Linked DNA regions of Homo sapiens: region 1 is linked to region 2. The links are contacts of gene promoters, found by promoter capture Hi-C in human tissues and cell types (Jung and others, 2019). All regions are on one chromosome and are shown on one strand. Each heading gives the region's core, a stretch centred on a gene start or on the middle of the fragment in contact. The rest is flanking DNA. Distances are from core to core; before and after follow the strand shown.

Region 1 (4,540 bases), core at 1,287-3,786, 37 kb after region 2:
GATGTAAAAGATCACAGGTGCCTCAGGTCTTTCATGGCCATGCACAAAGCCCTGCCCCTGTGTAGCTGTCTAGATCTCTGGAATGTATCAGAGCTTTTCAAAGCCTTCTTTGAACAGCTCACTCCCCAGGATTTCTTTTTTTCGTTTTTAAAAATTGTGGTAAAATAGACGTAAACTTCATCATCTTAACCATTTTTATGTGTACAGTTCAGTAGTATTAAGTCCAGTAAGTCCTCACTTATCATCGATAGGTTCTTGGAAACTGTGACTTTAAGCAAAACCACTGGTAATAAAACCAATTTACTATGGGCTGATTGATATAAACAAGAGTTAAGTTCCTGCAACATATTTCTCGTCACAAAAACATCACCAAACTTCTAAATAAAGACCCCAAATATTTATTATATTAAACATTTGAAATAAATGTGAGCTATACATTTAAGAAAGATTGATAAAAACAAGATAATTTTTTTTTTTTGAGATGGGGTCTCGCTCTGTTGCTCAGGCTGGAGTGCAGTGGCACAATCTCGGCTCACTGCAACCTCTGCCTCCCGGGTTCAAGTGATTCTCCTGTCTCAGCCTCCTGAGTAGCTGGGACTACAGGCGTGTGCCACCATACCCGGCCAATTTTTGTATTTTTTAGTAGAGATGGGGTTTCACCATGTTGGTCAGGCTAGTCTCGATCTCCTGACCTCATCATCCGCCCGCCTTGGCCTCCCAAAATGCTGGGATTACAGGCTTGAGCCACCACACCCGGCCAAAACAAGATAATTATTTACCCAATTTTTGGTGAATCAGTGACTGACAGCGGTTGTAGCGGTGGTGGATTAAATCAAGGAATAACTGTTTGCAAAGTGAAAATTGTAATGAGCACCTCCCACCACCATGCAGTTCAAAAGCAAACAATAACAAATATGGCCGGCACTTTCATACTGCAGCATTTATCGCAGTCATTTCTTGCCACGTATTTGTGTGATTACAGATTTTTATTTTACAATAATTTGTATTTATTCATTCACTTATTTTCCAACCTGTTTATTCCAGTTCATGGTTATGAGTGACTAGGACCTATCCCAGCAGCTCAGGGAACAAGGCAGGAACCAACCATGGGCAGGACACCATTCCATCACAGGTTACACTCACATACACACCCACAAGGACTTGGACAATTTAGACTCATCAGTTAACCTAATGTGCACATCTTTGGGACGTGGGAGGAAACTGGAGTAACTGGAGAATATGTAAATGTGAGGAGAACATGCAGACTCCACACAGACAGTGTGGCCCTGGCTGGGAATCGATTTTTTTTTATCAGTATTGTAGTGAAATAACATTGAATGAAACATTATTTGAGGACCTGCTGTATATTCATATTGTTACGCAGCCATCACCCATTTCCAGAACTCTTTTCATCTTGTAAAACTCAAACTCTGCATTCAAACTCCTCATTCCTCCTCCCTCAAGGCCCTGGCACCAACCATACTACTTTCTGTCTCTGTGATAAAATTTCGAGTACTCTATTTACCTCATATAAGTGGAATCATACAGTATTGTCCTTCTCTGACCAGCTTATTTCACTCAGCATAATGTCCTCAAGGTTCGTCCATGTTGTAGCACATCAGAATTTCCTTCCTTTTGAAGATGGAATAATATTCCATTGTATGTATGTGTCACCTTTTGCCTATTCATCCATTGATGGATACTTAGGTTTTTACATTCTAGCTATTGTGAATGATGCTGCTATGGACATGGATATACAAATATCTCCTCCAGATTCCACCTTCGGTTATTTTAGTTATATACCCAGAGGTAGAATGCTGGATCATATGGTAATTCTATTTGTAATGTTTTTAAGGAACTGCCATATTGTTTTTCACAGCAGCTGCACTGCTTTACGTTATCACCAGTCGTGCACAAGGATTCCAATTTCTCCACATCTTTGCCAACACTTACTATTTTGCTTTTTCGATAGTAGCCATCCTAATGGGTATGCGTCCCAGCATTGTCTTTTAAATGTGTTTGTCCAATTCCTGTTTGCCCCAATGGTAACTATTCCTCAGGCACTTTCACAGTGATCTCTATACCATAGTGCAGCAATCTTCAAGTATCACATATCCTCTAAAAGAATTTTAAGAACAAGTGTAAAGGAGATAATATATTTTTAAATTGGCATCTAATTTTTATCATAAGAAATATAAATAGCTGCAGAGGATCTAATTTCAAGCATGTTGTAAAATTTTCACTTAAAAGCAAACCTAAAAATACAGATGGCTTTTCAAAAAAAAAGAAAAAAATGCTACTGGGTCCCTTTCACAAAGGACCTTTTACTAAGTGACTAAGAAACTCAATCAACTAGTTTGAACTAAATGTGAATAGTTCCATTTGTCTGTCAGCAGATCATATTTTAACAGAGGCCTTCAATGTATTGACTCAAAGGAATGACTAGTGACGTGTGTTTGGGGATGGGGGGTGGGGAGGTTTTGCCAGTCATATCACATAAGCAGCTGCTTTGAAAATATCCCCACTTTCCGTGGTTTTAGGCAAGTAACTCGTTGTAAGTTCATTAAAGTAAATGCTTTGTATCTGGCAAGAGATGTAAAATTGGCAGGGAGTATGCAATAATTATTTGTTTATAATTAGTCGTTCCCTTTGTAGATAACCTATTTTGGTCCTACTAACAAAATAAACTTGGCCCATGGAAAAAAACTTTTTTTTAAACTTTGATCATATTAGCTTTAAATGTTAAACAGCTGATGCTGATTGTGTTCAGCAAATGCCCTGGGGACAAGGCTTTTCCCACTGAACTTGACCCTATGAGAAGGGCTTTTCCTGGAGCTGCAAGACAGGTCTGACGATGACAGTCCTGAGTGTGGGCTTTGGGGAACTTCCAGACTGGTTCTGCTCCCTCCCAGGCTGTGAGGCTGCTGGATTTCACAGTTGAGAGGTGGATAGGAAGTGAAAGCACCGCAAAGCTTGCTGCTCTTACTGAGATTCAGCTGCTTTTCTAGAATAAACACTCCTTGCATTGTTGCAAGCCATTGATTAATTTCCACGGTTCTCTAAAAGTTGGTTTTGACAGTTTTTCCCAGTATTCTGTCTTTAATGGATAAGCAGAGATTTGCAGGTCCTAGTCTTCCATTCTGGAAGTGCTTGGAGATTAACTTAAAACAGCACTGTCCTGTCATCTTTCCTGTCGTGCTTCCCAGGCTCCTAGCTGTCTTGGGTTTCCATCATCTTTTTGTCTCCTTGCTTATTGACCAAGAGCTGTATGGAACATTACTTTTATCGCAACTGGCTCCAAGGTATTATTCATTCAACAAGCACTTCTCGAGCTCTATCCCTTCTTCTGGAAGGAAAAGGGTCAAAATTATGATAAGAAGTTAGAGTTGGGGGAATAGATAGATATGATTAATAGAGATTGATATGATATAGGTGATAGATGGACATTTCTTATTTTCTATTTATAGTATAATGATGTTATCATTGAATACATTTTAAAGAAAATAAAAATGATTTGCATTTAGAAGCTTTTGATACACTTTGTATTTTTTGAGACAGGGTCTTACTCTGTCATCTAGGCTGGAGTGCAATGGTGCAGTCTCACTTCACTGCAGACTCCACATCCCAGGTTCAAACGATCCTCCTGCCTCTGCCTGCCAAGTGATTGAGACTACAGGCGTGTGCCACCACGCCTGGCTAATTTTTGTACTTTTCTGTAGAGACATGGTTTCCCCATGTTGCCCAGGCTGGTATCAAACTCCTAGAGTCAAACGATCCACCTGCCTTGGCCTCCCAAAGTCCTGGGATTACAGGTGTGAGCCACCACACCTAGCCAGATGCTGATACGCTTTTGCTTATTGATCTTGGTATTTTGTATTTGAGATAATTTTTAATAATTTTAAAAGATGAAATCTCCCCCAACCCCGTTTTTTACTATCCTGTTGTAGGAATAATAGTTGGGGTCAACTACAAAATAGAATAATCATTATCTAAATAATGAATGAGGGTTCATTTAGCTAGAAGCATTGAAGAATAAGAATTTGCACACCTGTGTATTTCCCAATAACAAATAATCTTATTCTTTAAAAATAAACATGGGATTCATAGGCTTACATACATTTCTTGCCATATACCTGGAATTAGCCATTTTGCCTCGGAACCATGGGTCCTTTTAAGGGGAAATGATACAGCTCATAGTGTCAGGGTACTGGTGAGGGAAAGGTGTGTTTTTTTTTTTTGTTTGTTTGTTTGTTTTCTTTTTTCGAGATGGAGTCTCACTCTGTTACTCAAGCTGGAGTGCAGTGGTGCAATCTTGGCTCACTGCACCCTCTGCCTCCTATGTTCAAGCAGTTCTCCTGGAGCACCCTCCCAAGTAGCTGGGACTACAAGCGTGTGCCACCACGCCTGCCTAAGTTTTTCTGTATTTTTAGTAGAGATGGGGTTTCACTATGTTGGCCAGACTGGTCTCGGACTCTCCCTTGGCCTCCCAAAGTGCTGAGATTACAGACATCAGCCATCGCTGGCCAATGTGGACTTTTTG
Region 2 (4,217 bases), core at 238-2,737:
ATAGTGGCTCACATCTGGGAGGCAGAGGTGGAAGCATTGCTTGAGGCCAGGAGTTTGAGACAAGCCTGGACAACATAAAGAGACCCCCATCTTTACAAAAAACAAAAATAAAAATAAAATTAGTCTGTGTGGTGGCACAAATCTGTGGTCCTCAAGAGGCTGAGGTGGAAGGATTGCTTGAGCCAAGGAGTTTGAGGCTGCAGTGAGCTGTGATTATGGCATTGCACTACAACATGGGCGACATAGCAAGATCCTGTTTTTAGAAGAAGAAAAAGTTCATTATATAGCACAAGGTGAAAAGTGCAAGTTGTAAAACGAGATAAACAGCATGGTCACAACTTTGTAAAATATACAAATATATATGCAGAAAAATAAGTGAAAATAAAATACACCAAAGGTTAATACAGTTGATTGCTGAGTAGCATGACTACAGGTAATTTTTACAGGTTTTTTCACTTCTTTATATTCTGCAGGTTTCTTTTGCAATGAATGTATGGTGAGATTTATAATTATATGGCTTGTAGATTACAATTCATAGTATACTTCAAAATGATTTTTTAAAAACTGTCTTGTCTTCTGAACTTCATCACAAATTCCTCAAGGGCAAGGATTGTATCTTTGGTTTCAGCAAGCCCGTTTCAGAGGCCTCTTGATTGGTAAATATTCATTGATGCTGCTAGTAATTGATTCTTTGTCTTAACAGGTTCTCTTTTTCTAGCTGCCTTAGAAAAAGTCTCCTTTCGCATCAGGCAGGTGCTTCTGATCCTCTCCCTAGAGATAGGCTATCTAATAAAGCCCTCTAAGCCTTTATTTTTATTTTTTATTTTTTGAGACGGAGTCTCGCTCTGCCTCCCGGGCTGGAGTACAGTGATGCGATCTCGGCTCACTGCAGCCTCCGCCTCCCGGGTTCAAGCGATTCTCCTGTCTCAGCCTCCCCATTAGCTGGGATTACAGGCACCCCCCCCACCACACCCGGCTAATTTTGTATTTTTAGTAGAGATAGTGTTTCACCGTATTGGCCAGGCTGCTCTAAGCCTATTTGATAAAACCCTTCTCCCAGGCCATCAGCAACTTGACAATTAGTACTGACAGGTGATGCCTTTTGGGATCAGGTCTCCAGTGGTTCTCGTTAGCATTCTTCACTTGAATATTACCCAAAACAATGGCAAAAATCAACCCCTATCCTAGGTTGCTCGGTGGAGGCAATCAAAACGAGACGCCTTGGGCTGGCCGCGATGCTCCTTTCCCCAGGCTCTGGGATTGTGGACAGGAGGGCGCGCACCCACTGGCGATCCGACGCGGAGCTGCAGCGTGGGGGCGTGGTGTGGCGGGTCCTCCGGAGCGCGGGGCGGGGCTGTGGGCGGGGATATGGGCGGGTCCTCCGGGGCTCGGGGGCGGGGCGGGGCGCGGGCGCGGGCGCCGGGAGGTGGGGCGGCGCGCGCCGGCGTCCCCCGCGCTCCTCCCGCGCGCGGCCCCTGGAGTCCCTGAGGCGCGCGGCCAGCCCAGCTCGGGCCCGCAGCACCGGGAGCAGCCCGCCGGCCAAGCGAGCGCGGGCCGGGGCCGGGGCCGGGGCCTGGGGGCGCCGCCCCCGGGAGTCTTTCTGCGGCCCCTGAGGAGCGAGGGCGACGGCGAGGCTGACCGGGGCCGAAACCATGAACCGAAGTTTTCACAAGTCTCAGACCTTGCGATTCTACGATTGCAGCGCAGTGGAAGTCAAGAGCAAGGTAAGCCCCCCGCCCGCCCCGGCGGCCCTGCGCCCAGTCTCCTGGCTAATGAATGGGGCGCCCCGCGGAGGGGGACTGGGGCGGCGTGGAGGCGACAGGCGCCGGCGACAACTTTCCAGTTCGGGCGCCGCGCGCCGCTCCGCGGGACGCGCACTGGGGACCCCGGCCGTCCTTCCCGCCCCCCGCGCGGACACAAAGCCCGGCAGCCGCGGCGCTCAGAGGGCCGAGGGCCATCGGACAGTCCGGGCAGACTCTGGACCCGCTCCGCGGGAGCTGCTCTTTTGTTCCACGAGTGAGAGGCGATCGGGGCGCGCCACACATTGGAGGGGAGGGCGGCCTTTCCGGGGCGAGTTGAGGGCCAGGGGCTGCTCGGATTCGGGGCCGTGGGGGGGCTCTGGGGGCCCGGGCCGTGGGATGGCCCTGGCCAAGGCGCCTTCAAGGCTGCAAAGGAGGCTTGTTACCTGCCAGGAGGAGACTTGCCGCCGGCTCCGAGCCCGGCGTCCCCCACCCGCTCGGTACCAAACATCTAGGCACCAGGCGCGCTCCCCCGCGCAGACCCAGAGCACGCACCCGGCTCTCCCCCGGCCCAGACCCAGACCACGCCTCCCCGGGCGCGTCCCCGGGCCAGACACCCCACCCCACCCCCACGGGCGCGCCCCCACCCCAGACTCCCCCACCTCCGGACGCGCCCCCGCCCCAGACCCAGCCCACTCCCCCGGGCGCGCCCCCGGCTCAGACCCAGACCCCTCCCGAGCGCGCCCCCGGATCAGACCCGTACCCAGACCACCCCCACGGGCGTGCCCGGCCCCTCCCGCTGCCTGCGCCCGGGCGGAGCGTGCCCGAACTTGCGGGTCGCGATGCGCGTCTGGGTAATTGGCTGGTAGGATCTGGCGCTTCTGCCCTTTGCGGGGGTGGTTCCTTCGCCGCAGATGCTATTGTTTGTGAGGGTCTCCTTGGTGGACCCCGCGGGCTGAGGAGGTGCTGCAGTTGTTCGGGGTCCTGCGGGAGGGGGCCCCTCGAGTCTTTCGCTGGCTACTCTCTGGGAGTTGAGCGGCCCTTTCGCCCTTTCTTTCTTCGCACCCCGGTTCTCAGAGTTGTGGGAAAGGCTCCTAACGGCGGAGTGGGAGCCCGCACCCCTAACTGTGTGCCTATCTTGGGCGCAGGGCGGGTGTTCCCTCCCCTGTCTCTGGGGAGGCAAGTCCAACAGCCCCCTCTCGCTGTGCTGCTCTGACCTTTGGAGTAGGATTTCCAGGGTGTCTGCAGAGGATTGAGGCGGGGAGGTGTCCCAGCAACAGCATGGCCGCCTCTCCAGCCTGCTACAGTGAGTTGCAGGATCCTTCTCTGCTTAGGGGTACACGGTCTTTTAATGAATCCCTCATTTATCATAAGATCCTGTCCTTACCCTTGCCCCATGACCTCGGCCCCACACCCATCTTCTCTGGAGCACAGAAGTGCCCCCAGCTCCCCCAAATCAAGTGTGCCAGCTGTGGGTTAGGTGAGGGGAAGAGCCCACAAGCATGGGCGGGAGGTTTCTTTAGCTCAGTGGGAACACAGCTCTCTGGAGCTGCACTATCTAGTACAGTAGACAATAAGCACGTGTGGTATGTAATCTTATTTAACTTTTTATTTTGAGATTATTGTACATTCACAAGTAGCTGTGAGAGAATATAGAGGTCTGTGTTCTCAGCCTCTGAGCCTTTGCTCAGCCTCCCTGATGGTGGCATCTCGTGTGACTAGCACACTGTCGTATCCTGGACACAGACCTTAGCGGGTCTCAGCAGCGTGACACACTCATTCGTGTACGCCTAGGTCTGTGCGGTGGTGTGACCACCAACACAATCAAGGTGCAGAGCAGTTTTCCCCTTTCATCCTAGGATCCTTCCTGCTGCCCTTCACAGCAGCTGTTTAACCAGGGAGGACTGGTTGGTTAACATGAGCGTTAAAGACTCACTTCTGTGCTCATTTGCCCTCTGCAGAGGGTGGCTGCCTCCTCACACACATAGCTCCAGAGAATCAGAGGCCTCAACCAGGCACAGGGTAGGTCTGGAGGACATGCCCTCACCAGGCCTCATCCTGCAGTCCTGGGCTGCTGGCACTACAGAGGCTGCCTCTGCCTTCCCTGGGGTGTCAGCCTGCCTGCTTCTGCCAGCTCCACTTGGCAAAGAAGGGGTGCTGCCTTACACCCCAAGCATGGATTCAAGTTCAGATGCAGCAGATGCTTGTCTGGAGGTGAGTGGCAGCGCCAGAGTTTTGGTTGAACTGGGGTGTCCTTGGAAGGGCCACACTGACCTGGGCCTTACTGGACTTGCTGTTGTGCCCTCCCCACCGTGATGGGGCTGAACTTGCTGCTTGTCCAGAGGGTCCGTGTGGCTCTTCCTTCTGTGCACAGCTTCCCACTTACCCACTTTATGGTTAATATTTGTTACTGTAGCATCTATCTCCATAGGGAGCCGCTGTTGTCAAAATAACAGCAAAGCCTTATGACAACCTCAA

Evidence for each region. Contacts are between HindIII fragments. The study calls those that stand out against the background at their distance.
Region 1: a contact is called between a fragment that was not itself captured here and the fragment with the promoter of PARD6G in region 2, in 2 of the 25 tissues and cell types used here (dorsolateral prefrontal cortex and pancreas).

What each region holds. Positions count from the first base shown.
Region 1 is chr18:80,208,823-80,213,362 of GRCh38, reverse strand. All of the region lies in intron 1 of PARD6G (par-6 family cell polarity regulator gamma), which reads left to right. Among named protein-coding and RNA genes, the nearest start is that of PARD6G, 36 kb to the left of the region's middle. The HindIII fragment of the contact is 5,128 bases long and covers 1-4,540 here.
Region 2 is chr18:80,244,784-80,249,000 of GRCh38, reverse strand. It overlaps PARD6G (par-6 family cell polarity regulator gamma), which reads left to right and starts at 1,487. Exons shown (of 3, transcript NM_032510.4): 1 at 1,487-1,724. The coding sequence starts at 1,653. RefSeq lists a silencer at 1,262-1,321 and enhancers at 2,348-2,847, 2,848-3,349. The HindIII fragment of the contact is 11,759 bases long and covers 1-4,217 here.